Regions from separate parts of the Homo sapiens genome. Here all the other regions are linked to region 1. The links are contacts of gene promoters, found by promoter capture Hi-C in blood cells and fetal thymus (Javierre and others, 2016). All regions are on one chromosome and are shown on one strand. The core of a region is centred on a gene start or on the middle of the fragment in contact, and the rest is flanking DNA. Distances in the headings are between cores, read along the strand shown. Region 1 holds the start of HAPLN3 (hyaluronan and proteoglycan link protein 3). Region 2 has its middle 37 kb from the start of ISG20. Region 3 holds the start of LOC124903573. Region 4 has its middle 59 kb from the start of ISG20. Region 5 overlaps CARMAL (coronary artery disease region linked MFGE8 regulatory lncRNA). Region 6 overlaps CARMAL (coronary artery disease region linked MFGE8 regulatory lncRNA). Region 7 has its middle 5.2 kb from the start of CARMAL.

Region 1 (3,610 bases), core at 415-2,914:
AACCCCTGTTCCAGCATACCCTGGGGATAAGCAGACAGTGGGAGAAGCATCTCTGCTCTGGGATGGGTTGGCCACAGCCTTCTAAAAGTCCCCCTCCTGGGACCCTGGAGTGGAGTCCCCTCACTCCTGACCCCCTCCTTCCTTCCTTGGCTTCTCTCCCTCAGCAGTGTCTTCCATTTGCCCAGCTTTTACCATCACCCCTACACATTGACTTTTTTCTGCCCCACTGCAAGGCAGAGGGTGAGCGTTCAGATTCCACCTGCTGGCTACCCCTACCCCTGGCTGGCATGTTCAACTCGACTTAACTGTAGCAAAATGTGCTCTCCCTACTGTCCATCCTCTCCCCTGTCGGGAACCTGCAGAGGGACCTACCTTGGCTCCCCTTTGCCCATCAAGCCTGGCGTTCCTTTTAGGTGTAGTTTACCTGTTGATCACAGTTCTTTGTGCTCCAATGTGCCCCTGGCTGTGTGTAACACACACACATGCACACACACACACACACTCATGGGCCAACTTGAGCTGTGTTTAGGAAGAGGCTCTGAGCTCTGTGACCCTGTGACCCTTCGACCCTTCCCCCAGCCAAAGCTGAAGGACCTCCTTAGTCTTTTCTGCTGAGGAAACATCGGGCTGTCCAGGCCAGGGCCCCCATTGGTCTGGACAGGAAAGAAAACACCCTGTCCAAACAGAGGCATCCTGAGCGGCTGCCTGGATGGCTGTGCTGATTAGCAGGATTCCGAAGGGAGGCCCACCCCTGTTGGAGGACCACTCAGAAGCCTGATTGCCCCTGCAGGCTGCAGAGGTATCCCACCCTGTGTCTCCCCTCCCAGCCAGGGCCACTCATTCAAGCCCCATGTGCTGGGGATAGCACCTGCTATGTGCCTGACAGTGAGTTGGGAATCTGGCCAGTGTTTCATGATGGCCAAACTCAGGGGCATGAGGACATCAGCAACCCCTTGCTTTTTTTTTTTTTTTTTTTTTGAGACGGAGTTTTGCTCTTGTTGCCCAGGCTGGAGCACAATGGCATGATCTCAGCTCACTGCAACCTCCGCCTCCTGGGTTCAAGCAATTCTCCTGCCTCAGCCTCCCAAGTAGCTGGGATTACAGGCATGCTCCACCACGCCCAGCTAATTTTGTATTTTTAGTAGGGACAGGGTTTCACCATGTTGCCCAGGCTGGTCTTGAACTCCTGACCTCAGGTGATCCACCGGCCTCCACCTCCCAAAGTGCTGGGGTTACAAGCATGAGCCACTCACTGCACCTGGCCTCACCCCCTTGCTTTCTATTTGGAAAAGAAAGTAATACAGAAGTCTCACCCCTTCCACAATCAAAGGTGGGGAGCAGCCTTAGCCCCTAGCAGAATGCTGGACAGGGGCTTCCCCTGCTTACTCCCACTGTTTTTGGTATACCAGGCTTTCTAAGGGGATCCCCCCTCCCCAAACTCTCCTATTCCACCCCTACTCTCCTTTCCCAAGACGTGAGGGCCTCAACTCTTGCACACCCTCTTTGCGGTGGTTCCCAGCGAGTCTGGAGACCGCTCAAGCCTGCAGCAGCTCCTCCCTTCGAGCCCAGCCCTTGGGAGGGAAAGGTGCGCGTGTTCCTTTAAGGGGCTGGTCTGGCGGGAGCGCGGGGGTTTTTCTGCTGCCGCTTCCTTTCTGCCCTTTTAATTTCCCCGAAATCAGACTGCTGCCTTGGACCGGGACAGCTCGCGGCCCCCGAGAGCTCTAGCCGTCGAGGAGCTGCCTGGGGACGGTACGTGGCTTAGGGGTCGCTGGGCTTCTGGGGCTGTGTGCGGGCCGGGTTCCTCCCTTACCGCTTTGGGTGCCCTGCGGGTCCCCACACCTCCCGGGCAGGGTCCGGGGAAGGGGCAGGAGGCGTGGGCCGGGCACTGCGGAGGCCCGGGCTGAGATGGGCTGTGATCGCGGGCGAGGGGCGCCCGGGGCACAAGTGGGGAGGGAGCGGCGCGGGGATGCGGGCGCCGGACCCTCGTGCCCACCGTGAGGGAGCAGAGCCCGAGCGGACCCCGTGGCCTCCGAGACCACCGTCCGCCTCCAGCCCCCTTCCTGCCAGGGTCCGCTTGGCTCTCTCCCCTGTCGTCTGTCCAGGGTCGGCTGCCTCCAGTGCCGTCCGCGGCGCCCCAGGCCCTGCCCCTGGGTATCTGTTGGATGCTCCGGGGGCCCCGGGAGTCCTGGGAGGGGCTGAGGGCAACCTGCGAGGCGGCTGGCGGACCTGCGCCTCTGGACCGCAGCTGGCCGGCTCTGGGCGCCTGGGGCAAAGGCAACTGATGCCTATGGGTTCCAGACCTCGCTCACCGGGGTTCTTGCCCCAGGGACAGCGAGGCCAGAAGGGTAGGGAGGGTGGAGGGCAGAGCCCTGGGTGGGAGATGGCGACCCTCAGGGAGAAACGTAGGCTTGTGCGCAGCCAGTATGGAAACAGCACGGCACTTGGACCCAGTCCTGCCACCAGCTCGTTGGCAGCCACAGGCCACAGGCAGCCTGTAAACCTGTTGGGACCTTGGTGTCCAGCGCTGACCCGCGGGAGTGCCTGTGCTCCCTGGAGTAGGGGGCAGCGATTGAGAGGGGCCCTGGCTTCTCTCCCTCGACGCCGCCCGGGCCAGCGGATTGGGAAACACCTCCGGTTTTCATTCTCCTGGGGGCTGCAGGTTTCAAAGGCGGAGATCAAGCCTTGTGCAAACAGGGACAGGGATGTCAAATTTCTCGCTGGGAGCAGCGCTCGTGCAGACCTCGCGGGCGATGCTGCCTCCTGCTGGTACCTGGGGGACTTGTACTCACGGAAGGCCCAGTGCGGACATGCACCTGGCAGGGAGGTGGCACCTACCCTCCCTCCAAGCCCAGGCTTATTGTTCTTGGGTGGAGGGGTCCCTAGGCTGGGGCGCCTGGGAAAAGCAAAGGGCTGGTCATCAGGAAACCTGAACTTTCTCTAAGTTCGAGATATTTGACAAAGATAACGCCTTGGGTAGTTCACTGACCTCCACTCTCTTGGCCTCAGTTTCCTCAACTGTGAAGAGGAGGCAGTGGTGACCACTTTGTCTCGTAGGCAGTGAGAGAGGAGAAAGAGCCACTGAGATGGTGTAAGACTTCACTGTGTGAACTGCTCACCAGAGTAGTAACAGGTCATATTTTCCCAGTGCTTGCTCCTTATCAAGCATCAAGCAGTATTTTCAGTGCTCTGCAGCTATTCTCTCCCTTAATCTTCACGAGAGTGTTTTCTGTTTGGTATTGTCGTGACCGCCCCCCCCACCCCAACTTTTTTTTTTTTTTTGAGATGGAGTCTCACTCTTCTTGCCCAGACTGGAGTGCAATGGCTCAATCTCGGCTCACTGCAACCTCCGCCTCCTGGGTTCAAGCGATTCTTCTGCTTCAGCCTCCCGAGTAGCTGGGACTACAAGCGCTCATCACCACACTCGGCTAATTTTTGTATTTTTAGTAGAGATGGGGTTTCACCGTGTTGGCCAGGCTAGTCTTGAACTCTTGACCTCAGGTGATCTGCCCACCTCAGCCTCCCAAAGTGCAGGGATAACAGGCATGAGGCACTGTGCCTGGCTTGTGACCCCCATTTTAAAGATGAAGAAACTGAGGCTCAGAGAGGTGCA
Region 2 (3,610 bases), core at 778-3,277, 220 kb after region 1:
CATTTTGCAACCAAGCTTCCTAGTTGTAAGCAACAAAAATAGATTTTGGCTAATATCATCAGAAAAGGCTTCTATCTGAAGAGTATCTGGGAACTCACAGAACTGGAAAACAAAACAAAACAAAACAAAAAGGCTAATAAATTGGGCTTAGAAAAGAACAGGAACCAGGAAAGCAACAACCATTTAGGGAATGAGGACTGCTGGTTTGTCGATGTGCTGCTGCTGCAATAAGAGCAAAATTTTTGCATCCTTGACTCAACCTTCACAAGACTCAAAGTCTTTGGAGACAGAGACCAGTTGGTTTAGTGTAAGAAGGCCAGAGTTCTTGATTTATGATTCCATCATGTCTGCACACTATAGAGAAGAAGCAGATCTCAAAGATATATTGAAGTGTTATTTCCAAAGAAAGAGAAATTAATACTGTGCAACAAATAGCCAACAGACTTTATCATGAAAGATATGCTTAACAAAGGAATGACAATTTTTTGACTTCTAAGAAAGCAGTTTAAAATAAACAATGAGGGAAGGCAAGATTGTGGGTAGAGGGCCAGTGGAAGAAAACTTCAATAATCCAGGAGAGCAATGATGAGGTCATGAGCTAAGGCAGTGAAGATGAGAGCAGAGTGAATGCAGGAGATACCTGGGAAATGGAAGCTTTAGGATTAGGAGGATAATTAGATGTGGGAGGTGAAAGAGACAAGAGCCAAAGAAAGCTCTTGTTTCTGGCTTGAATGACTTGGGTGGATGAGAAAGTCCTGAAGTCAAGATAGAAATACATGAGAAAGGTAAAATGGGAACGGTGAGGCTGTGTAAGAGTATGGGACATGTTGAGTTTGAAATGCCTGCAGATTGTCCAGTTGAAAAGATTAGAACTTAAGAAAGACACTGGTGGATCATCAGCTAAAGGAGTGATTGTAGTTATAGACTTAAGTAAAATTTCCCAGTGAGACAAGGCAGAGTGAGAAACAGAGATGACTGAGAAGGAAGTGCTAAGAAGAAAATGCTGACATTTAAGTGGCAGGCAGAAGAGGGATCTACAAAGGGGTAGAGAGTGAGCTGGAAAGAAGGAGAGGCTGGTTATACAAAAAAATAATAATAATAAAAGAGAGTTCCAGGAGATTGTGGTTGACATTAATATATGCTGCGGAGAAATCACACAGGATAAGCACTGGAAAGTGTCCATTGGATTTGAGTATTGGAAGGTCATTGAGAATGCAGGTTAGAGCAGTTTCAGTGAAGTCTTGAGGACAGACACCAGGAAATTCAGAAGGAGAAGAAAAGACAATACAGTAAATACAGGCTGCCCTGGGGTAAAGCTTGACTGTGAGGGGAAGGGGAGATATGGCAGTAGCTGGAGAGGAGCTGGAGTGATGGGAACATATGAAAGTGAAGAGTGTGCTGAGGGTGGAACTTACTGTTTCTTGACCTCAATCCAATGGAACATCCAAATATTGACTCAGGGTCTTAAAGGGGAAAAATATTTTTAAATCCCTAAAACATGATAAAACGTGAGTCATGATGACAGTGAATGAAATCAGTTGTGTCTGGCCGGGCGCGGTGGCTTACACCTGTTAATCCTAGCATTTTGGGAGGCCAAGGTGGGGGATCACCTGAGGTCAGGAGTTCAAGACCAGCCCGACCAACATGGTGAAACCCCATCTCTACTAAAAATACAGAAATTAGCCGGGCGTGGTGGCACAAGCCTGTAATTCCAGCTACTTGGGAGGCTGAGGCAGGAGAATTGCTTGAACCTGGGAGGCAGAGGTTGCAGTGAGCCAAGATTGTGCCACCACACTGCAGCCTGGGCGAGAGAGCAATACTGTCTCAAAAAAAAAAAAAAAAAAAAAAAGGAATATGTCTATTTGTTATTAAACAATAAACAGTGCAAATTTGGGGGTGAAAATAGGAAATAAAAGCAAAGACAATAAAGGTTATTATTGTGGAGGAATCTGCCAATACCAACTCAGAGTTATCTTTCTGGTTTGCTTAGTCTGTTCACTTCTGAGAGGAGTATATTACTATCTTCAACTATTATTGTTGCTTTATTTAGTTCTGTTCATGATTCTTCCAGCTGTTGTTTCATCAAGACTGTCCAGTGTAGTAGGTAGTAGACACATGTGGCTATTTACATTTTAATTGGCAGGGCACAGTGGCTCATGCCTGTATTCCCAGCACTTTGGGAGTCCAACATAGGAGAATCACTTGATCCCAGGAGTTTGAGACCAGCCTGGGTAACATAGTGAGACCTGCAAACAATTTAAAAAAAATTAGTCGGGTATGATGATGCACGCCTATAGTCCCAACTACTTGAGAGGCTGAGGCAGGAGAATTGCTTGAGTCCAGGAGGTGGAGGCTACAATGAGCCATGATCCTGCCACTGGGCAATAGAGGAAGACCCTGTCTCAAAAAATAAATAAATAAGTCTGAATTAATTAAAGTTAAATCTTCAATTCCTGAGTCACAGTAGCCACATTTCAAGTGTTCAGCAGCCACATGTTGTTAGTGGTTACTGTATTGAACAATGCAGATATAGAACATTTCTGTCACTGCAGAAAGTTCTTTTGGACTGCCTGGCATTATATAATCCTGGGCTATATTGCTAGATGCATATATGTTTATGTTTATGTCTTCTTGGTCTGTGTTCCTTTTATTAATCCATAAAATGCCTCTTTGTCCCTTATGATGTTTGTTACTTGAAATTCTATTTCTAAGAATTTAAATTTGCAACCCAAGCTTTAATTGGTTTATATTTATTCAACACATTTTTCTCCATATCTCTTTTTACCTGCCACACCTAAAATCTACAAATTTGTTAATAAAATGTTTCTGTTTTCTTGCTGATCAAAGTGATAAAGCAATCACAGAAAATAAAAAGACATTTGATACAAAATTGATACAAAATCACAGAAAATAGACATTTGAGCTTGTTGAAAAAAAAATCACATTAAAAAAATTCATGTTGGTTGATTCAGATCTATCTCATTGATATTCAGCAACCATTTTTCTGCTTTTATTGACTTCTTACTGAATTTCTCCTGGGAAGCAATAAAAAATAATTTGTTTCCTTAAATCCAATCACTTTCTGTGGCAAGCTGAAAAATGGTCCACCAAAAGATATCCACATCAAATCCCTGGAATCTATGAATGTTGCCTTACTTGGAAGAAAGAACTTTGTCAATGTTATTAAATTAAGCACCTTGAAATGAGGAGCTAATCCTGGATTATCTGGGTGGGTCCTGAATGCTATTGCAAGTCTCCCCATGAAAGAGAGGCAGAAGGAGATTATACGTCACCACATGCAGAAAGGGCTATGTGAAGATGGAGGCAGGCGTTGGAATGATGCTGCTGTAAGCCAAAGAACACCATGGAATGCCAGCAGCCACCAGAAGCTAGAAGAGACAAGGAATGGATTCACCGCAGAGCCTGCAGAGGGGGGCTGGCCTCGCCAACACCTTGATTTTAGATCTGGCCTCCAGAACTGTGAGAGAATATATTTCTGTTGTTTTAAGCCCTCAAGGTTGTGATATTTGTTACAACAGCCCTAGGGAAAAATACACTCCTATAACTTCCCTATCTTCAGCCAGAACTCCAACTCTATTTTCCGCCAACA
Region 3 (3,610 bases), core at 747-3,246, 210 kb before region 1:
AACCATCAGAAGAGGAGACAAGCAGGGAACAGTCTTGCCTTCAGAGCCTAAGGAAGGAGCCAACCTTGTAAAACCTGTTTTCAAACTTCTAGCTTCTAGAATGGTGAGAGAATATGCCCAAATTACCTCTCATGACTCAGGAGTTCCACGCTCCTGTCCTTAGTGGCTGAAGGGACCGTTTGCCACTTCCTTCTGAAAGGACCCTTGTTACTCAGACACGCTCCCATCAATTCAGATGACAGCTAACTGACATGAACACCCACAGATGACTTCTTAACATAATACAAATTGCATTCTGTGAATAAATACTTATTGGCTTGGCTTCTTTGCCTCTGTGATTCAGCTATCAGAACCATCCTTTCCTTTCCTCTTAGCTATCAGCAAAGTGAGAGAGCTCAGAGGACACAGACAGCTGGGGGAGGGGGAGATCTCTCTTCCTTGCAACCCTCAAGGACCTAGCACAACAAGCTTTGATACTTATGGGTCCTAAGGCAAATACCTCTCAAGGAAAACCAAACCAAACCCCTAAAGGATTTCTCTGTTCCAATTCCATCTGGTTGAAGATGTAAATTTCATTTAGGGTCCAGTCCTGCAGTGACACAGCCAGTGCCAAATCCAGCCACAGTGTTTGTCCTGGGGCAAGTTCCTTAATCCCTCTGAACACCATCTGTAAACTGAACATGTTAATACATAAAGAGCATTTTAAAACAATGCCGGCATACAATACTACCGTATTTTTAATATTTTGGGGTACTACCGCAAAATATTCGCTATTACCATCTCCACTATTAAACTTTCCTCCATTTTGCCTCAGTAAACAACCTAAGTTGACAGATAGAAACGACCACAAAACATACTCCTTCCTAACTGACACACAAGTCTCATTAGCAATGAACTCACTAGCTGATTAACTGCTTGGGCCTCCTCCAATGAGTTTAAAATTAATTCCAGGACATACTCTTCTTGATTCTTCTAAAATGGAACCATATCTTCTAAAATGGAACCATGTTAGACTTAATAAATCACTGGATACTAAGTGGTGATCATCATGTCCCATAAACAGTTCCAAGATGCATTGTTCTTGTTTTCTGTGCTAAAATGCATCCTTGGCAGTGCACAGCTGGAACCCCTGCTCCTGACACCACCCCTCTCCTGCTGAGGGGCTTCTCCTGCCCATGGAAAGACTACCCATTCTTCCCTGCAGGTAAAAATCCCCTCTTGCCTAGCCTGGATCTCCCAGCAAACTGTAATGCCCTGAGATAAAACTTTGTCCCCCAAAGTACCCTGTGAGGATGTCAGGAGAAGGACAGCAGAAGGCCACAGCACACCACCCCAAAAACATGGTCTGTTTCCATCCCATGTCATTCTGATTTTTCAGCCTCTTTGGTGGCAGCTTAGATAAAAGTACAACCCCATCTTAACTTGATTACATCTGCAAAGACCCAATTTCCAAATAAGGTCACATTCACTGGTTTCAGATGGGACATAAATTTTGGAGGGTCACTATTGAACTTGCTACACCAGATAAAAGTGGTCAACCTTAAATGTGGGCAACATGACACCCTTGGAGAGAAAGTAAGGAGGAAATGGGCCACCTTCTCCCCACTTTATCTGCCATTTAACTAAATTAGTCAGAGCCATCATAGGGGGAAAAAAACCATTCTGCAGGGACGAAAACAAGCCCAGATGATTTTGGGGAGAAGGCCTAGCCATCCCCGTCTGAGTTGTGCCTTTGTGTCCTCTGAGTCTTTCACTGCCATGGGATGGGAGAGCCTCAGAACATAGCCAGGAGGCTTCGGGAACTGCACAGCCCTGGCGACCCGGCCCTGTTCTCACTCTCGGTAAGGTCTAATGAGGTGAGTGAGCACCTTAGCCAGCAGCTCACAGACCCACCTTTTAGCAAATCGGTGTTGGTCTAGGACCACGTGTCCTCCCACAGAGGGTTCTGTGGAATGGAGTCATCACGGTGCTCAAATACTCTGGGTTTGTTTGTTTTTGAGATGGAGTTTCGCTCTTGTCGCCCAAGCTGCAGTGCAATGGCACAATCTCAGGTCACTGCAACCTCTGCCTCCTGGGTTCAAGCCTCTGGCGTAGCTGGGATTACAGGTGGGTGCCACCATGCCCCACTAATTTATTGCATTTTTAGTAAAAACGGGGTTTCACCATGTTAGCCAGGCTGGTCTCGAACTCCTGACCTCAGGTGATCCACCTGCCTCGGCCTCCCAAAGTGCTGGAATTACAGGCGTGAGCTACTGCACCTGGCCAATACTCTGGGTTTTAAAAGACCACCTCTCGGCTGGGCACAGTGGCTTACATCTATAATCCTGGCCATTTGGGAGGCCAAGGAGGGTGGATTGCTTGAGCCCAGGAGTTCAAGACTAGCCTGTGTGACATGGAGAAACTCCGTCTCTATTGTTTAAAAGAAAAAAAAAAAAGACCTCCTCTCACCACCACCACCACCTCAAGCCAGAAGGGATGGGAAAGCCCTGGAAACAATAGGGCCAATCCTGTTTTCCAGAGATGCTGAGAAACACTGATTTTTGAACATTAACTAACTCAAGCCAGGGACTGCCCTGAAAGGGCGGGAGTGGGTTACCATAACAAGGAAGGATAAAGCCCTTGGTTGATCCAGTCCATCTCTTACAAACCAGGTCCTACAAGGTGAAGGGATCATCAAGTCACACACAATTTAGTAGAAGAGAACTGGAGGGATTGACAGATAATTAAATGTATTTACGGCAAGGTTGCCCTTTGTTGTATTCAAGATAAGTCCTTGAAATTGTCTTTCTGTGCAAACCTACTCATGTGATAACAGTTTTATTTAGCCATATTTCTTCCACAAAGTCATAAGGTCACACACTCAATCTGCTGGAATTTCAGAAAATAGTCTACAAGTTCTCAGGGGGAGTCAAGTTACCCAATGCAGGAAAACGTGAACCTCACATTTAAATGTCAGGAATGGCTACTAACCCATGAGCTTCCACAAAGAAAGTTACCAAACTAAAAATGTCTGAAGACTGAGTCACCAGTTAAACAGGAACATTTAATCGGGCACTTTTACGTGCCCTTACTAAAATACTGAAAGGAAGCTGGCCTCTTCCACTAGCAAATAACCCTGCTGAAAGAATAGTACTGGCTATGAGAGAACGAATGGGTAAAGCACTTAGTAAAATCACAGGCAAAATTGTTTTCTCTTTCACTGAGAAACCATGAATCCATACCTGAGAACAAACAAAAAAATCTTACGCCAGGTGTTTCCTCTAGGGAGGTTCTAGATTTTCTAAGAGAACAGGCATATGAATTGTGAGATTTATCCTAAACATATTTTTAAAAATCTACACCATAATTAAATTCTGTAATATCAGAAGCAAAATTGCAGTTTACCAGAACCCAATGAGCTCAAGTGCCTAGTTTACTGGAATTTTTAAGAGAAGGATACAACTGAAGAAGAGGGCATCTCCAGATTGATTGTCCTGGGCACCATAGAGATGCCACCCACTCTTCTATGTCTGGAAATAAGCTTCCAGAAGGAGGAAATGGAGATGGGGGTGGGAGGGCAAGACCCAGTGCCTGGCACAACCGTTGCCTGAAGAACCACTCAACCCATCTA
Region 4 (3,610 bases), core at 425-2,924, 200 kb after region 1:
GCCCCCAGGGCCAAGCATGGGCTGCCTCTCACTGGATTTTCCATACTCCCTCAGCCCTTCCTTCCTCACCTCCAGAGCAGAGCTTCTCTGACCCCAATTTGGAGGTGCTGGGAAGCCCCAGAAACCCTGGCTGCCATGGGGTCTTGATCTCAGTGGGAGTGAGCTCACTGCAGCTATCCCAGCCCTTGGCTGGCCCTCTGCCTTCTAGTTCAGCTCTGCGTCTGTCTCCCTGAGTCACCTTGAGAAATCACTGAACCTTGGCTCTCCCATCTGCACAATGGTGGATTGCATTGGTTGGTTTTTGAGGGTCTTCTCAGTTCAGACTTTCTGGAAAATCCAGGAACCTGGATGCAGATATTCATATAACTGGGTTCAGACTGACAAACCTAACACAGGCACCTGATTATGCTGGGATGCTGGTCGCTCCATGTGCCCCCATGCTGTCTAAAAAGAGTTTTCTCCTGGGCATTTGCATCCATCCTCCTGGGGAGGTGAACGATGTTGGGCTGATCTATAGCCCCCTCATCCCTTCCCCTCTTTGAAAAGAACCGTAGAGGAGGTCTTGGTGCCGACATTTGGGGTAGAGGTAGAGGGTGGGGAGGTGAGGCTACAGAGGAAGGGGTTGGGAATGGACTGCATGGGCAGGGGCTGGAGGGTGCTGAGCTCTGGAGAGCGCTGAGCTCCCAGCTGTCCATTGTAAAACTGGATCTGATTTCAGCTTATGGCTCAATGTGTCACAGGAGAGAGAGGACCCATCCGGAGGAGAAAGAGTGCCGTCTGCTCCCCAGCAAGGGGAGAGCTCTTTGTGTGCCAGCATGGCCCAGCACTTGCTGTTGGTGATGGTCTTGTACTCACCGGTGAAAGAAGGGTGGGCAAGGGGTTGGGGGTGGTCTGTGAGAGGCCTGGAACACCCAGGCTGGGCACAGCTGCCTGTGCCAGCAAGCTTAGCTGAGATAAGATCTTGTTCTGGGCTTGAGAACAGGGCTCTGGCTTCCCTGGAACGTGACCTACTCATCCCAGAGTAAAGTGGAGTGTTCTGGAAAGGATGGAAGGATGGATGGAGGGATAAAATTAAACTGATCTGAGGGAAGAATCCCTAGTGACTTTTTCTAGATGAATAACTTATATAAACAAGAGAGAGAAACTAAGCTTTATGTCCGTGTTTTGAGCCTGATGAACTAAGAGAACGAGCCTGAAAGGGATAGCTGCCAGTTGCGGGTTGGGGAAGGAGATGGAGGGGAGTGGAGATCAGGCAACGATGACTTGGTTTGAGACCTGTTGAGTTTGAAGCCAGGGAAGGAAAGCTGGGGAAACATCTGGCTTGCAGCTAGAGATTGGGAGAGGGACCCTTGTCTAGATGTGCATATAGATTTGGAAATTTCAATACATAGAGATGATAGTGAAGGTTCTACGAATGTGTCAGTCCTCAAAGGAGAGATATTAAAGCAAAAGAAGGGGAATGAAGGCAGGTAGATCCTTGAGGGTGTTCACGGTTTAGGAGCTGATAAGGGACATGAGGGCAGTGGAAAGGGAAGCATGAAGCCTCCGGAGAACCCGTGGAGAAGGGCATTACCCTCAACTCTTGTGGCGCTCAAAGGGAAGGAAAATGGAAAAAAACAAACTGGACTTGCTGTCTGGTGAATCCCAGGAGAGAATTTTGGTAAACTGTTGACAAGGGGAAGTCATGATTGAAGGGACTAAGGAAGGATTGTCTATGTTCCCTCTAGATTGTTGAGGCATCTTGCTTTGCACGGGTGAAACACTGATTGTATCCAGCCATCACATTTGCCACTTACAGTCATATAGCCTGAAATGTCTAAATAGGATTGTCTCAGGACAGGGTCCCTGGAAATAGAGCACGGGCTCTATCATGCATCATGTATCACTTGCTAGTGATAGTAAGAAAGAATTCTGTGCTATATGTTAGAAGATCTAGTTTCTGGTTCTTGCTCTGGTGCTAACCAGCCAGATCACTCAACCAGAGCTCTTTATCCAACATTAGTGAGTTACTTATCACTCCTTATCTTGTACTGCTGTTTCCATTGCACTCTCCCTAACTCAACATTATCTTATACATAGTAGCTGCTCAATAAATACATTTGCTGAAAGGATGGACAGATGAATGGCTAAGTGGATGAATGACAGGTTCTGGAGTTCAGTTGCCTATCTGTAAACCAAGGGATATGAAGTCAAGCTTCCATACATTTCCTCACACCTCAAATCATCTGTGGCTATGCTGTTTTGATCTAAGCAGAGTTCTTCCAAAGTTGCTTAGAACCTGCACACCTGGGCCAATCAGGCTTTTGTAGATCATTCAATGTAATATCCTTCTGAGCCATTGTCACATCTCCACGGCCTTTCCTTTATGATCGGTGAGAGGATCTTAGAAGATTAATACTAAGTATTTGTTGAATGAAAAAGAAATCATTTCCAATTATAACCTGACACATTTAAGGATCTATGGCATGTGGGTCTCATGGTAGACAACACGCTCTACAGTGTTTGCCAGCTGTTTGAAGATTATCCTACACAACGGGGCAGGATGTACTCCCATAGCCAGTTTCTGGTGTGACATCTGAATGTGGCTTTGCAGCTTTGGGCTTGGGCGTGTCCTTACGTCCATGAGGCCATCAACACAGCACTCGGAAGCATCATGTCTGGGCCCCTGCCACAGTGTAAGAGAGAAGCTGACAATTTGGAACATGCCCAGAGGCAAGTGGCCAGGATGGTGAAGGGTCTGGAAATGTCACAGGCGATGAATGGGAAAAGAACCGAGGGAATTCGCCAGAAGAGAGAGACACATGATAGCTGCCTGCAAAGACTTGAAGGGTTGTAACAAAAGGTGTGTCCAAGCTAACCTGGACTAGGGTTTGGCTTTTTCCCTACGTGGGCCTCCTGAGAACAGACCTGCCAGTGGCAGATATAAGTTACAGAGAGGCCAATTTCAGCTCAGTCTAAGAACTTAAGAAGATTTTTTTCAACTGAGTTATAACAACATAGAATTGAAGGAGAGAATGCATGAGCATTGCCAGGACTGAAGGAAAGGAGATCTCATCAAATGGGTAGTTGGTCTAGGTGAATTTTCAGAGCTCTTGCAATGTGGAGCCTCCAGAACTCTAAATAATTGAGCCCGTTAGTACAAAGAGAGAGCTCCTTGCTTTGTCAATTTAGAAATCGTCTGCTGGTCTTCACTGTGGTTCATCTAATTCCTGGCTGGTCTCCTCTAAACACATTCCTCTATTCAGTGGTTTTGGCCTCCCAATTGAAATGACTATAAGCCTCTCTCCTCTACGTGTTTAACAAAAAATATATTTTTAATTCTTTTTTTCCAAATAAAGAGCTTAGGAGGTCTCAGGAAGACTGTCCCCAAATGGAGAAATTCCATAAGAAACAAACAAACAAACAAGCCTCCAAGCAAAAATTATACGGCCGTAAAAATCAAACCCTCAAGATTCCGTTTGCCTGGCTGTCCAGAAAATAGAGCTTTGTCTGCCTCTAAGATCTCTTCAGGGATGATGGATTTGCCTCACCCATGACTGGACCCATTAAATTTAAATCTGGGGGCAGGGTAGGTGGGAAACCCTCTGAAGCTCACACCTCCTGAAGGTGG
Region 5 (3,610 bases), core at 1,111-3,610, 180 kb before region 1:
GCATTGGTAAGCAGGGGAGAGGCTGAGTTTTGTAGACAAGGGGATTTGGAGTCATAGTTTCTAGGTAACACGTTGCAAAAGCTGTCCACAGTACAAGATAATGGAAGTCATAGGCATAGACAAGTTTCAGAGAGAAAGAAAAGCAGACCAGGTTAACTTGAACTTGGGAGAATGAAACTTGGCAGGAGGAGAAAAACAGTGAAGGAGCTTGAGAAGTTACCACCACAAAGGGAGGAAGGGTTGACAGCTAACATTTATAAAACCCTTACTAAGAGACAAGCACGATTCTAAGAGTTTTAGATTTTTTTAAATATTTAATCCTCCCAATAACTCCACAGGGTGAATATGATTATGCCTGTTTTACAGATTAAGAAACTGAGGCCAGAGAGGTAAAATAATGTGCTTGAGGTCACAAAAGTGATATTAAGTAAACCCAAAATTAAAACCTTGGCAACATGAGCATGCATAATTCTCATTCTTAAGTATGTACCCAAAGAAACACACGGACAATAACATTCACAATAGCACCATTCGTAATAGCTTAAGATTGTAAACTGTCCAAATGTCCATCAACACTAGAATGGATAAACAGATTGTAGAACATTCATATTCAATGGAATACTATGCAGCATTGGGAATGAACAAATCATTACGATAAGCATGCCACCAGCATAAAGGTGAGTGAAAGAAGCCAGTCATCCAAGAAATGTATGCTATGATTTTATTTATATAAAGTTCAAAAAGAGGTAACACATGGCTGTGGTGTGAAAAAGTCACCTGACCTTTGTGAGGTGGTAGAGACTGGGAAAGGGCCTGAGAGGGGGTTCTTGGGTGCCAGTGATGCCCTGTTCCTGAGCTGGGTGGTGGTTACACAGGTGTGTTCACTTATGAAAATTCATCAAGCTGCTCACTTATGATTCATGTACTTTTCTGTGTGTAGGTAACAAACAAAAAGTACTAAAAAACAAGAAAGCAAAATAGAACCAGGGCATCTGATTTGAGGACCTACCCCCTTAACCACAGAGTGATCCAGAGAACAAGGGTCTTTTCTCCTCTTCCACAAAGAAAAATGTGGAAGGGGACCTTATAAAATTATAAATTTAAAAGAAATTGAAGAGATAGATCAACCAAATGGAATGTATGGGTCTTATTAGCATCCAAATGAAAACAAACCGTAGCTGGGTATTATGGATCATGCCTGTAATCCTAGCACTTTGGAAGGCTGGGGCAAGTGGATCACTTGAGCCCAGGAGTTTGAGACTGGCCTGGGCAACATGGTGAGACCTCATCTCTACAAAAATACAAAAAAGTAGCTGGACATGGTGGCATGCACCTGTAGTCCCAGCTACTTGGGAGGCTGAGGTGGGAAGATCACCTGAGCCCAGGAGGTAGAGGCTGCAATGGGTCATGATCGCACCACTGCACTCCAGCCTGGGTAACAGAGCAAGATCCTGTCTCAAAAAGAAACGAAACAAAACAAAACAAAAATTAAACTGTAAAAGACAATAACAAAACAATTGGGGAATGAATATTAATTATATTATGATTATGTTTTATAAAAAGTCCTTCTATTTCAGAGATACATATTGACATACTGATGGATGAAAGAATGTCTGGCATTTGCTCCACAAGAATGAGGATACGAGTGTTGAGATGAAAGATTGGCCATGGATTGATCATTGCTGAAGGTGGATGATATCTACCTGGACTTCACTGTACTTTGTCTATTTGTTTGAGTATTTTGTGAAATAAGAAGTTTTTGCAAAAGAGAAGAAGAAAACTAACGTTCAGTGTGTTCGCAAAGGAACTGATTCCCTTGGCTCCATATTTTTAAATTTGGATCTCCTTTGAGAGAGAAAGAGAGCAAGCACATGGGTCACAGGACTAAAGGAGAAAGGGGACGTGTGGGTGGAGCATGAGCTTGCGATGCCTGCTCCTGTGGTTTTCTCTCTTCCTCTACTCCTCCACTGGAACAGTTCTGGCAAAGGCCACTGTGACCCCCACTCACTGCTGCATCCAGCAGTTGGCTTTCAGTTCTTCTTTACTTGACATCTTGGTAGCTTGGGACTCTGGTGGCCAGGCCCCCTGCTTGGGAAGCACCTCTGGTTTTCCTTTGTCCATTTCACAGCCTGCCCCATGGACTCTTCTTCCTGTGCCTGATTCTTCAGTCCTGGGCCTGTCCTCAGCCTGCTGCTCTTCTTCCCCATACCCTCTTCCCTGGTGGTTCTGTCCTCTCCCAGCGCTTGAGTTGCTGCCAGGGCTGTCTTTCTAAACAGCAGTTCTCACCAACTGATTCCCTTGTGAAGACCCAGGAATAGCTTCCCATTGCCCAAATGATAACATTCAAACTCTTCCTGGAGGTACAGGAGGCCCTTCAGCATCTTTTTTCGCCTCCACTTCCTTTCTACCTTCCCTCTCTAGCCTTCCCTCCTTCTCCTCCCCTTCACACCCTCCGAGTCAGCCAGTGACATTATCAACACTTCTGGAATGCACCAGGCCGTTCCTTGCTCCCATACCTTTGACTCGATCTGGACTACTCACCCACACACTTCCCTACCTGGAAAACTCTACTCACCCTTTGAGACTCTGCTGCAAGCTCACTCCATCCATAAAGGCTTTCCTCATCTTCCTGTGGAGTTCATTCATCCATTCAATCATCCATTCCTAATAGATGTAGATGCAAAGACCTATGATAAGGCTGAGTGCTGGGGGCCAGAACCCACATCATTCACACTTTACCTCACAGTTCCTATCTCAGGTATTGCCTTACTTACATGATAGCTGCTCCCAAGCCCTACCCCTTGAGGCCAAGGAGGGTGACTTATTCCTCTTTGTACCCAAGTGATAGTAGGCACTAAAACACGCTTGTTCAATTGAATTGAAAGAGAAGAATTACCGAGAAAAGGCCTCTGGGTTTGGCCATTCAAACACTTTTGATAAACTTTGGGTGTCTCTGTACTAAAGTTTAGGGTTGGGGGTGAAGGGAATGAGGCTTTTTCTCCTGAGGGTTAAGGAGAAGCCAGGAATTGGTACCGCTGTAGGCCACTTGCTTGAGAAATGTTATCAGTGATATGAGGCAGGAAACAGGATGACAGCAAGATTGAGTGATGGCGGAGTTCAGCATATTTTAAAAGACAGATAGGGAAGAGCTAGTGGAAGTAGACTTGAGACGCTGGTGAGAGGCAATGTTCCAGAAGAAAATGACAAAGCAAGCTAGGTTCTTTTCTTTGTTGGGGAGGGGTTGGAGACAGGTGAACCTCATACAGGCCTGGGGGCAGCTCTTCCTCTAAGATGGAAGGGAAGGCTAGAAAGTGGAGGAGTCATAGCAGCCACTTCGGGTGCCTGCCTTATGCCAGACTCTTTCATTTCCATTACACTTAATCCTCAGTCTTCATTTTCAGATAAGGAGAATGGCTCAGTGTTTCAGTGGTTTTCCACCTGGTGACACATTAGAATCCCCTGAGGAATTTGTTAAAACAGTGCATCTGGGTCTCACTCCCAGCTTTCCTGATTTAATTTGATCTGGGAAAGAACACTGGCATCAGAATTGTTTAAGATCTTCAGGTGACTCTTTTTTTTTTTTTCAGATGGAGTTTCGCTCTTGCCCCCC
Region 6 (3,610 bases), core at 350-2,849, 160 kb before region 1:
TTCAGGGCTGCCTTCCCAAGTTATGAGTTGTGACCAATGATCAACCTAACGAATTTTGATCAGATCTGTGGGTCAGAAAATTGGAACAGGAAGTAATCTGTAGGCGTCTCCCAGGGACAAATAAATAGCCAGTTTGGATTTCCTCCAGGTCTGGTCTAGGCAGGTAGGTGGTCAGAACCATGCCAGCTTGTCTAGCCACAGCGAACATTTTGTGAGGATGTGAGTGGGTGTCAAGTGGCTCGCCTGGGTGGGCAGATGTACCCCTCTTCCTGGATCCCCTGGCATATGGGCATTGGTGAGACTGCAGAGCTGTGACCAGGTACAGCAGAGAAGAGAGCCCCAAACATGGAAGAGGGCATGATGGGAGATGCTGGAGAGGAGAGAAAATTTCCATTTGGCTTTTTGAGCTTCTTGTCAGGTCCTCAGAGCACAGCAACTTGGCAGCTCTCTGCGTGCCCCATTCCTAGTCTTCCTTCATGAATTTTTCATTTCAGGCAAAGAGCCCTTATCTTTCGCTGGAGCTGCTTTCCCATCAGCTGGTGACTAGGCAGATGAAGGTTGCATTAAGGCAGGAATTATCCATCCCTTGAGAGAGAAATGGCACTCTGTGCCCTTGAAAGGATGGCTTCTGCGCCACCACCCATTACTGCAGGCTTCTGTCCAACGTTGGATTGCTGTTTTTATTGAGATATTGTTGAGGGCTGAAAGAGAAAGGCTTCAAGGGCAGATACTATGGTCTTGTCTGAAGAGTGAGGTCTTTCCTGCTGCCAATCATTGGACATGAGGGGGCTCCACAGCAGGAAAGAGGAATTAAGAAGGGACTTGGCCTGTCACAACCCAGATTTCCAGGAGTCTCGATGTCCAGGGGCACTCCTGAGGGATGGAGGGAGTTAAGGATGTCATCTCTCCTTGTCCCCATCCCCTGGGCCCAGAGCAGGAGAAGCTCCTGCTGTGCACCTCCTCGGGCCATGTTCCTTTCTACAAAGGGAGTCCATACACCCACCCAAGACTAGGCTCCGTGTACCAGGACCCCAGAGTTTCTGTCCAAATTACAGCAAGCCCTCTTCTGTGCCTGCGGGGCATCTTCATTTTCTCTAGGTCTCTCTTCCCAAGAGTGGACCTCACTACCTGTGTTCACATGCTAGGTACTAGGAGTGGCCAAGGGGTAGCTGTTTTCAGGGTTGTAAGGGGTGTGGGTGTGGAGGAAGCTTGGATGTGTGAGCTGGAGTATCCACACGTATGTGAGGCTCCTCACGATCTGAAAGGATGAGCGTGGGTGGGTGGACCTGGGGCCAGAAGTGGAGAGCCAGGGGAATGGATCTCCAAGGAGGCTGAAAATCCTAAAAGTCAACCTGGTCTTTTAGGTGGTTATGAAGGTATCTACCTCAAGGCGGAAGGATGGAGCATACTTCATTTAAGGGTTTATCAGCTTGACTGAACAACTTGAAAATATGCAGACATAGAGTATGTGAGCTTCCATTCGTTCTCTTGCCTGGCGCCCCACAAATGTTGGTGGGCTTAATTTGTAAGTGGGGAGCTAGGGAGTCCTAGTCCTGGGGTCCCTGATGGACTGGGTAGAGGGCGAAGAGCTGCAGGAAAGAAGTCAGACCTGGCAAACTAAAGTTTTGACTCACGGTGTCCCCTGAATCTATCTTCGTTTTCTTAGTCCTCAGCTTTTAGGACAGTGTGATTGGAAAGTTCTGGCAGGTTTGTTTCTTTCTTTTTTTTTTTTCATTCCTTCTTATTAATAGCGGGTTTCACTGGGAAGCCGCATGGTGGCAATAGATGGCCCCAGTTGGAGAGGGAGCAGCGCCACCCTGAGGCCATGGAGGGAATGGCAGCAGGAATGGGGGTGAGCCCAACGGGGCCTGCCTCTCAGGAGCCCATGCACCAGGCACGCCCCCACCGTGATTCCACGACCATGGCTAAACAAGAAGGGGCTGTATTCTTACCCTCTTACCAAAAATAGCATTTTCACCATTGAAGCTTCCCAAAGAACTCTCAGCTGTTTGCTAACCATGAAAATCAATCCTTGGAGTTCCAGAGGCGGCCAGTCCCCAACTTCCCAGTGGTCACTGTGTAACCCCTGCCCTACCTCATCTTCAGAAACCCCATCATCACTGCGCCAAACCCCAAAGGGAAGTGGAGATGAAGGAAGGGAATTAGCTATGAGCAGCTTAGAAGAGCTAACCCGGGGGTGGCTTCTCAAGCAGAACTCACATGCTTACAAAGGGGCTTCAATAGATCCTTTACCCTTTTCACTTAACACTTTTAAAAATGGTATCACGCTGGCCTAGCGCAGTGGCTCATGCTTGTAATCCCAGCACTTTGGGAGGCTGACGCAGGCGGATCACCTGAGGTCAGGAGTTCAAGACCAGCCTGCTAACACGGTGAAACCCCATTTCTACTAAAAATACAAAAAATTAGCCGGGCGTGGTGGCGTGTGCCTGTAATCCCAGCTACTCAGGAGGCTGAGGCAGGAGAATCGCTTGAACCCGGGAGGCGGAGATTGCAGTGAGCCGAGATGGCGCCATTGCACTCCAGCTTGGGCAACAAGCGCAAAACTCCATCTCAAAAAAAAAAAAAAAAAAAAAAGGTATCACTTATAAACTGGATTAACAGTGTGAAAAAAATTTAATGCCTACTGACTATATTTCCTGACTGCCTGCACACAAACTCTGACAGGTAGAGATTGCTATTGTCCCATTTTACAGACAAGAAAACTGAGGCCCAGTGAGGTGAATGACTCACTCAAGGTCATGTTGTAATAAGTAGTGCTGCTGGGTCTGATTTTTTTCATTGCACTGTTCTATCTTTTGCAAGCACCCTGAAGGAATTTTATTTTTTTATTTTATTTTTTTGAGATGGAGTCTTGCTCTGTCGCCCAGGCTGGAGTGCAGTGGTGCGAACTCGGCTCACTGCAAATTCCACCTCCCGGGTTCACGTCATTCTCCTGCCTCAGCCTCCTGAGTAGCTGGGACCACAGGCACCTGCCACCATGCCTGGCTAATTTTTTTGTATTTTTAGTAGAGACGGGGTTTCACCGTGTTAGCCAGGATGGTCTCGATCTGTGCCCGGTGCCTGAAGGAATTAAAGATTCAAATTCCTGCCACAATCCTGCACTGGGGCATGGTGTTCTTTCTTACTGTGTCATTCAAGTTGCAAAATCCATACATATTCTTGTAACTAAGCAAATATCTCCAATGCCATCTCCTGAGGTGAGCAATATTAACAGTTTTGTGAGTTTTTTTCCTATTATTTTCCCTAGGAAGATACGAATAGTTACAAATTAAAAATTCGTAGAGGGATTCCCACCTCCATTTACAAAATTTTAATTAAAAGCAAAAATCAGGCTAGGCGTGGCAGCTCACATCTGTAATCCCAGCACTTTGGGAGTCTGTGGTCAGAGGATTGCTTGAGGCCAGGAGTTTGAGACCAGCCTGTGCAACATAGGCAGACTCTGTCTCTACAAAATATTTTTAAAAATTAGCTGGGCATGGTGACTCCAGCTACTCAGGAGGCTGAGGCAGGAGGATTGTGTGAGCCCGGGAGGTCAAGACTGCAGTGAGCCGTGATCACGCCACTGCACTCCAGCCTGGATGACAGAGTG
Region 7 (3,610 bases), core at 727-3,226, 140 kb before region 1:
AACAAATAAACTTGAGAGAAAAATAATCCTTTTTCTCTCTTTTTTTTTTGAGACGGAGTCTCGCTCTGTCGCCCAGGTTGGAGTGCAATGGCGCAATCTTGGCTCAGTGCAACCTCTGCCTCCCGAGTTCAAGTGATTCTCCTGCCTCAGCCTCCTGAGTAGCTGGGATTACAGGTGCCCACCACTATGCCCGGCTAATTTTTGTATTTTTAGTAGAGATGGGGTTTCACCATGTTAGGCTGGTCTCGAACTCCTGACCTCAGGTGATCCGCCTGCCTCGGCCTCCCAAAGTGCTGGGATTACATGCATGAGCCACTGTGCCCGGCTGAGAGAAAAATAATACTTTTATGTATATGCTTTTATAGGCACAAGATATCTCTAGAAATATCCATGAGGAACTCTCATATTTCATCAGATCTAAGATGCCCTCAATTATAAGATATACCATTGTTGCATGCACAAGAAAGAAAAAAGACTGCTAAACGGAGAGGCAAAAGATTCAGAATAGCCAACACAATGTTGAAGAAGAAGAAGAAGTCGGAGGACTGATACTACCCAACTTCAAGGCTTACTATAAAGCCACGGTAATCAAGAGACTGTGATATTGATAAAAGAATAGGCAAATAGATGAATAGAACAGAATAGAGAGCCCAGAAACAGACCCACATAGCTATACTCAACTGATGTTTGATAAAGGAGCAAGGATAATACAATGGAAAAAAAGACAGTATTTTCAACAAATGGTCCTGGAACAACTGGACATCCATATGCAAATAAAAAAAAAAAGAATTCAGACACAGACCTTGCACCCTTCATAAAAATGAAGTCGAAATGGCTCACAGACCTATATGTAAAGCACTAAACTATAAAACTTCTAGAAGACAACAAAGGAGGAAATCTGGATGATGTTGCGTATGGACATGACTTTTTTGATGCAACACCACAGGCATTAACCATGAAAGAAATCATTGATAAATTGGACTTCAATAAATTAGAGAAACTTCTGCTCTGTGAAAAACACTGTCAAGAGAATTAGAAGACAAGCCACCAACTGGGAAAAAGTATTTGGAAAAGACACCTGATAAAAGATTGTTATCCAAAATATACAAAGAACTGTTAAAGCTCAACAATAAGAAAATGAACAACCCAGCTGAAAAATGGACAAGCGACTGGAACAGACACCTCACCAAAGATTTTACAAATGAAGTAAGCATGTGAAAAGATGCTCCACATCATGTGTCATCAGGGAACTTCAAATTAGATCAACAATGCGAGGACCCAAACACGTGTGTTGCTCCACATCCTCACCAGCATTTAGTGTTGTCAGTGTTCTGGATTTGGGTCATCTCATTGAATCAGTGTGAATGAATGAACTCTCATTCATTGCTGATGGGAACGCAAAATGCTACAGGTTCTTCAGGCTCTTTGGAAGACAATTTGATGGTTTCTTTTCTTTTTTTTTTTTTTTTTTTTTGAGACAGGGGCTTGCCCTGTCACCCAGGCTGGAGTGCAGTGGCAAGATCACGGCTAACTGCAGTCTCTAACTCCTGGGCTCAAACAATCCTCCCACCTCAGCCTCCTGAATAGCTGGGACTACAGGCATGTGCTACCATACCAGGCTAATTTCTAAAACAAAAATTTTGTAGAGACAGAGTCTTCCTATGTTGCCCAGGCTGGTCTCAGACTCCTGGACTCGTGATCTTCCTACCTTGGACTTCCAAAGTGTTGAGATTGTAGGCATGAGTCACCACTCCCAGCCTAATTTGGCGGTTTCTTACAAAACTAAATATACTTTTACCATATGAACTAGCAATTGTGCTGCTTGGTATTGACCCAAATGAATTAAAAACTGGTGTCCACACAGAAATCTGCCCATGGATGTTTATAATCAGCTTTATTTATAATCATCAAAATGTGGAAGCAAGCAAGATGTCCTTCAGTAGGTGAATGTGTAAATAAACTATAGGTACTTCCAGACAATGGAATATTATTCAGCACTAAAAGAAATGGGCTTTGGGTGATAATAATGTGTCAATGTAGGTTCATTGATTATAACAAATTTACCTCTCTGTTGCAGAATGTTGATAGTGGGGGAGGCTGTGTATGTGTAGGGCCAGGGAGTGTATGAGAACGCTCTGTACTTCTAAATTTTGCTGTGAACTAAAACTGCTCTAAAAGATAAAGTCTATTTAAAAAAAGACTGCCAGTTAACTATATGACATGATGCCATAACGACAGCCTTGCATGACACATGATTGATCACACCAGCCCTTCATGGCTTTGAAATTTCTTGCATCTATTCTGAGAGATCTGGCAATTTCCCCAGTCTTAAATTGCATTGTCTGGCATGAATTTGAGTAGGTAACATTCCTTTTTCTCTTTTGGGTATCTTCCACTTTGGGGTCCTCAAATGGACCAAGCATGCATCAGCAGCATCAATATCACCAGAGGGCTTGTTAGAAACGTGGAATCTGAGGCCAGACGCCGTGGCTCACACCTGTAATCCCAGCACTTTGGGAGGCGGAGGTGGGCAGATCATGAGGTCAGGAGTTCGAGACCAGCCTGGCCAACATGGTGAAACCCTGTCTCTACTAAAAGTACAAAAAATTAGCCAGGCGTGGGGGTATGTGCCTGTAGTCCCAGCTACTTGGGAAGCTGAGGCAGGAGAATCGCTTGAACCCGGGAGGCTGAGGTTGCAGTTAGCAGAGATCGCACCATTGCACTCCAGCCTGGGTGACAGAGCAAGACTCCATCTCAAAAAAAAAAAAAAAAAAAAAAAAAGAAATGTGGAATCTGACCCATGCCAGACTTAGTGAATCAAAATCTGTGTTTTATCCAGATCCCAGCGGATTTGTGTGCACATTGCAGTCAGAGAGGTACTGCTGCTGAAAACCTCTCAATGGTTGCTCTGCAAGAAAATATGGAATGGAAATCATTACTCTAACAATTCATAAATTCGCTTCACTAATATCAATTTTGCACCTCACTGTTGTTTCTGTAACTTTCTGCATCCACAGTGACCTTTCATTTAAATGCTGATAGTACCGTCTTTTTGAAGATATTTTAAATAGCAAGTAAAGTCAGCGCATGTAGCGTCAACAATGCACATAAATCATTTGAAATGATGACAATACCAAAGCTATAGCCAAGTTTGCTCAAGTGCAGGCAATGGTATCAATGTGATGAGAGCCACCTAGCTGACAGCTATTGTAAGACACATCCTGATTTCAGAGATGTTAAAATGTGAAAAAACATGTATATCTTAGAAGTCAATGAAATATGGTAACAAAATAGGCTGCTTCTGGGGTAGGAACTGGATGGCTAGAGAATAAATGGGAGGGAGATATTTCATTGTATCTTCTATTTTGTAATCCCAGGACCCAAACCCCAAATCTCTGAATCACTTGTGTACTACTCAGTGATAGTAGACACTGTTTTTAATGTAATTTAAGATTGACTTGGCTTGGTGGTGGCTTATATCTGTAATCCCAGCACTTTGGGAAGCCAAGGCGGGTAGATCACCTGAGGTCAGGAGTTCAAGACCACCTTGGCCAACATGGTGAAACCCTATCTCTATTAAAAATACAAAAATTAGCCAGGCATGGTGGCG

Evidence for each region. The method cuts DNA at HindIII sites, captures the fragments that hold promoters and counts their contacts. A CHiCAGO score of 5 or more calls a contact.
Region 2: a fragment that was not itself captured here is called in contact with the fragment with the promoter of HAPLN3 in region 1 in 5 of 17 cell types (naive CD8 T cells, naive B cells, total CD4 T cells and 2 more); the score reaches 8.6 in naive CD8 T cells.
Region 3: a fragment that was not itself captured here is called in contact with the fragment with the promoter of HAPLN3 in region 1 in 3 of 17 cell types (naive CD8 T cells, naive CD4 T cells and total CD4 T cells); the score reaches 6.4 in naive CD8 T cells.
Region 4: a fragment that was not itself captured here is called in contact with the fragment with the promoter of HAPLN3 in region 1 in 1 of 17 cell types (total B cells); the score reaches 5.2 in total B cells.
Region 5: a contact is called between a fragment that was not itself captured here and the fragment with the promoter of HAPLN3 in region 1, in 2 of 17 cell types (naive CD4 T cells and total CD4 T cells). The highest score is 5.3, in naive CD4 T cells.
Region 6: a fragment that was not itself captured here is called in contact with the fragment with the promoter of HAPLN3 in region 1 in 7 of 17 cell types (naive CD8 T cells, non-activated CD4 T cells, total CD4 T cells and 4 more); the score reaches 11.0 in naive CD8 T cells.
Region 7: a contact is called between a fragment that was not itself captured here and the fragment with the promoter of HAPLN3 in region 1, in 5 of 17 cell types (naive CD8 T cells, total CD4 T cells, activated CD4 T cells and 2 more). The highest score is 7.2, in naive CD8 T cells.

The regions. Positions count from the first base shown.
Region 1 is chr15:88,893,598-88,897,207 of GRCh38, reverse strand. HAPLN3 (hyaluronan and proteoglycan link protein 3) reads left to right here and starts at 1,664. Exons shown (of 5, transcript NM_178232.4): 1 at 1,664-1,749. RefSeq lists an enhancer at 1,827-2,438. The HindIII fragment of the contact is 19,838 bases long and covers 1-3,610 here.
Region 2 is chr15:88,674,511-88,678,120 of GRCh38, reverse strand. No RefSeq gene overlaps it. Among named protein-coding and RNA genes, the nearest start is that of ISG20, 37 kb to the right of the region's middle. The HindIII fragment of the contact is 1,417 bases long and covers 1,319-2,735 here.
Region 3 is chr15:89,104,686-89,108,295 of GRCh38, reverse strand. All of the region lies in intron 1 of ABHD2 (abhydrolase domain containing 2, acylglycerol lipase), which reads right to left. It overlaps LOC124903573, which reads left to right and starts at 1,764. Exons shown (of 7, transcript XM_047433432.1): 1 at 1,764-1,856. The coding sequence starts at 1,764. The HindIII fragment of the contact is 3,052 bases long and covers 471-3,522 here.
Region 4 is chr15:88,696,555-88,700,164 of GRCh38, reverse strand. No RefSeq gene overlaps it. Among named protein-coding and RNA genes, the nearest start is that of ISG20, 59 kb to the right of the region's middle. The HindIII fragment of the contact is 1,045 bases long and covers 1,152-2,196 here.
Region 5 is chr15:89,074,350-89,077,959 of GRCh38, reverse strand. It overlaps CARMAL (coronary artery disease region linked MFGE8 regulatory lncRNA), which reads right to left. Exons shown (of 4, transcript NR_183882.1): 3 at 2,576-2,664. It also overlaps a transcript of ABHD2 not described here. Among named protein-coding and RNA genes, the nearest start is that of ABHD2, 12 kb to the left of the region's middle. The HindIII fragment of the contact is 5,614 bases long and covers 1-3,610 here.
Region 6 is chr15:89,055,894-89,059,503 of GRCh38, reverse strand. All of the region lies in intron 1 of CARMAL (coronary artery disease region linked MFGE8 regulatory lncRNA), which reads right to left. It also overlaps a transcript of ABHD2 not described here. Among named protein-coding and RNA genes, the nearest start is that of CARMAL, 17 kb to the right of the region's middle. RefSeq lists an enhancer at 1-169. The HindIII fragment of the contact is 778 bases long and covers 1,211-1,988 here.
Region 7 is chr15:89,033,992-89,037,601 of GRCh38, reverse strand. No RefSeq gene overlaps it. Among named protein-coding and RNA genes, the nearest start is that of CARMAL, 5.2 kb to the left of the region's middle. The HindIII fragment of the contact is 6,015 bases long and covers 1-3,610 here.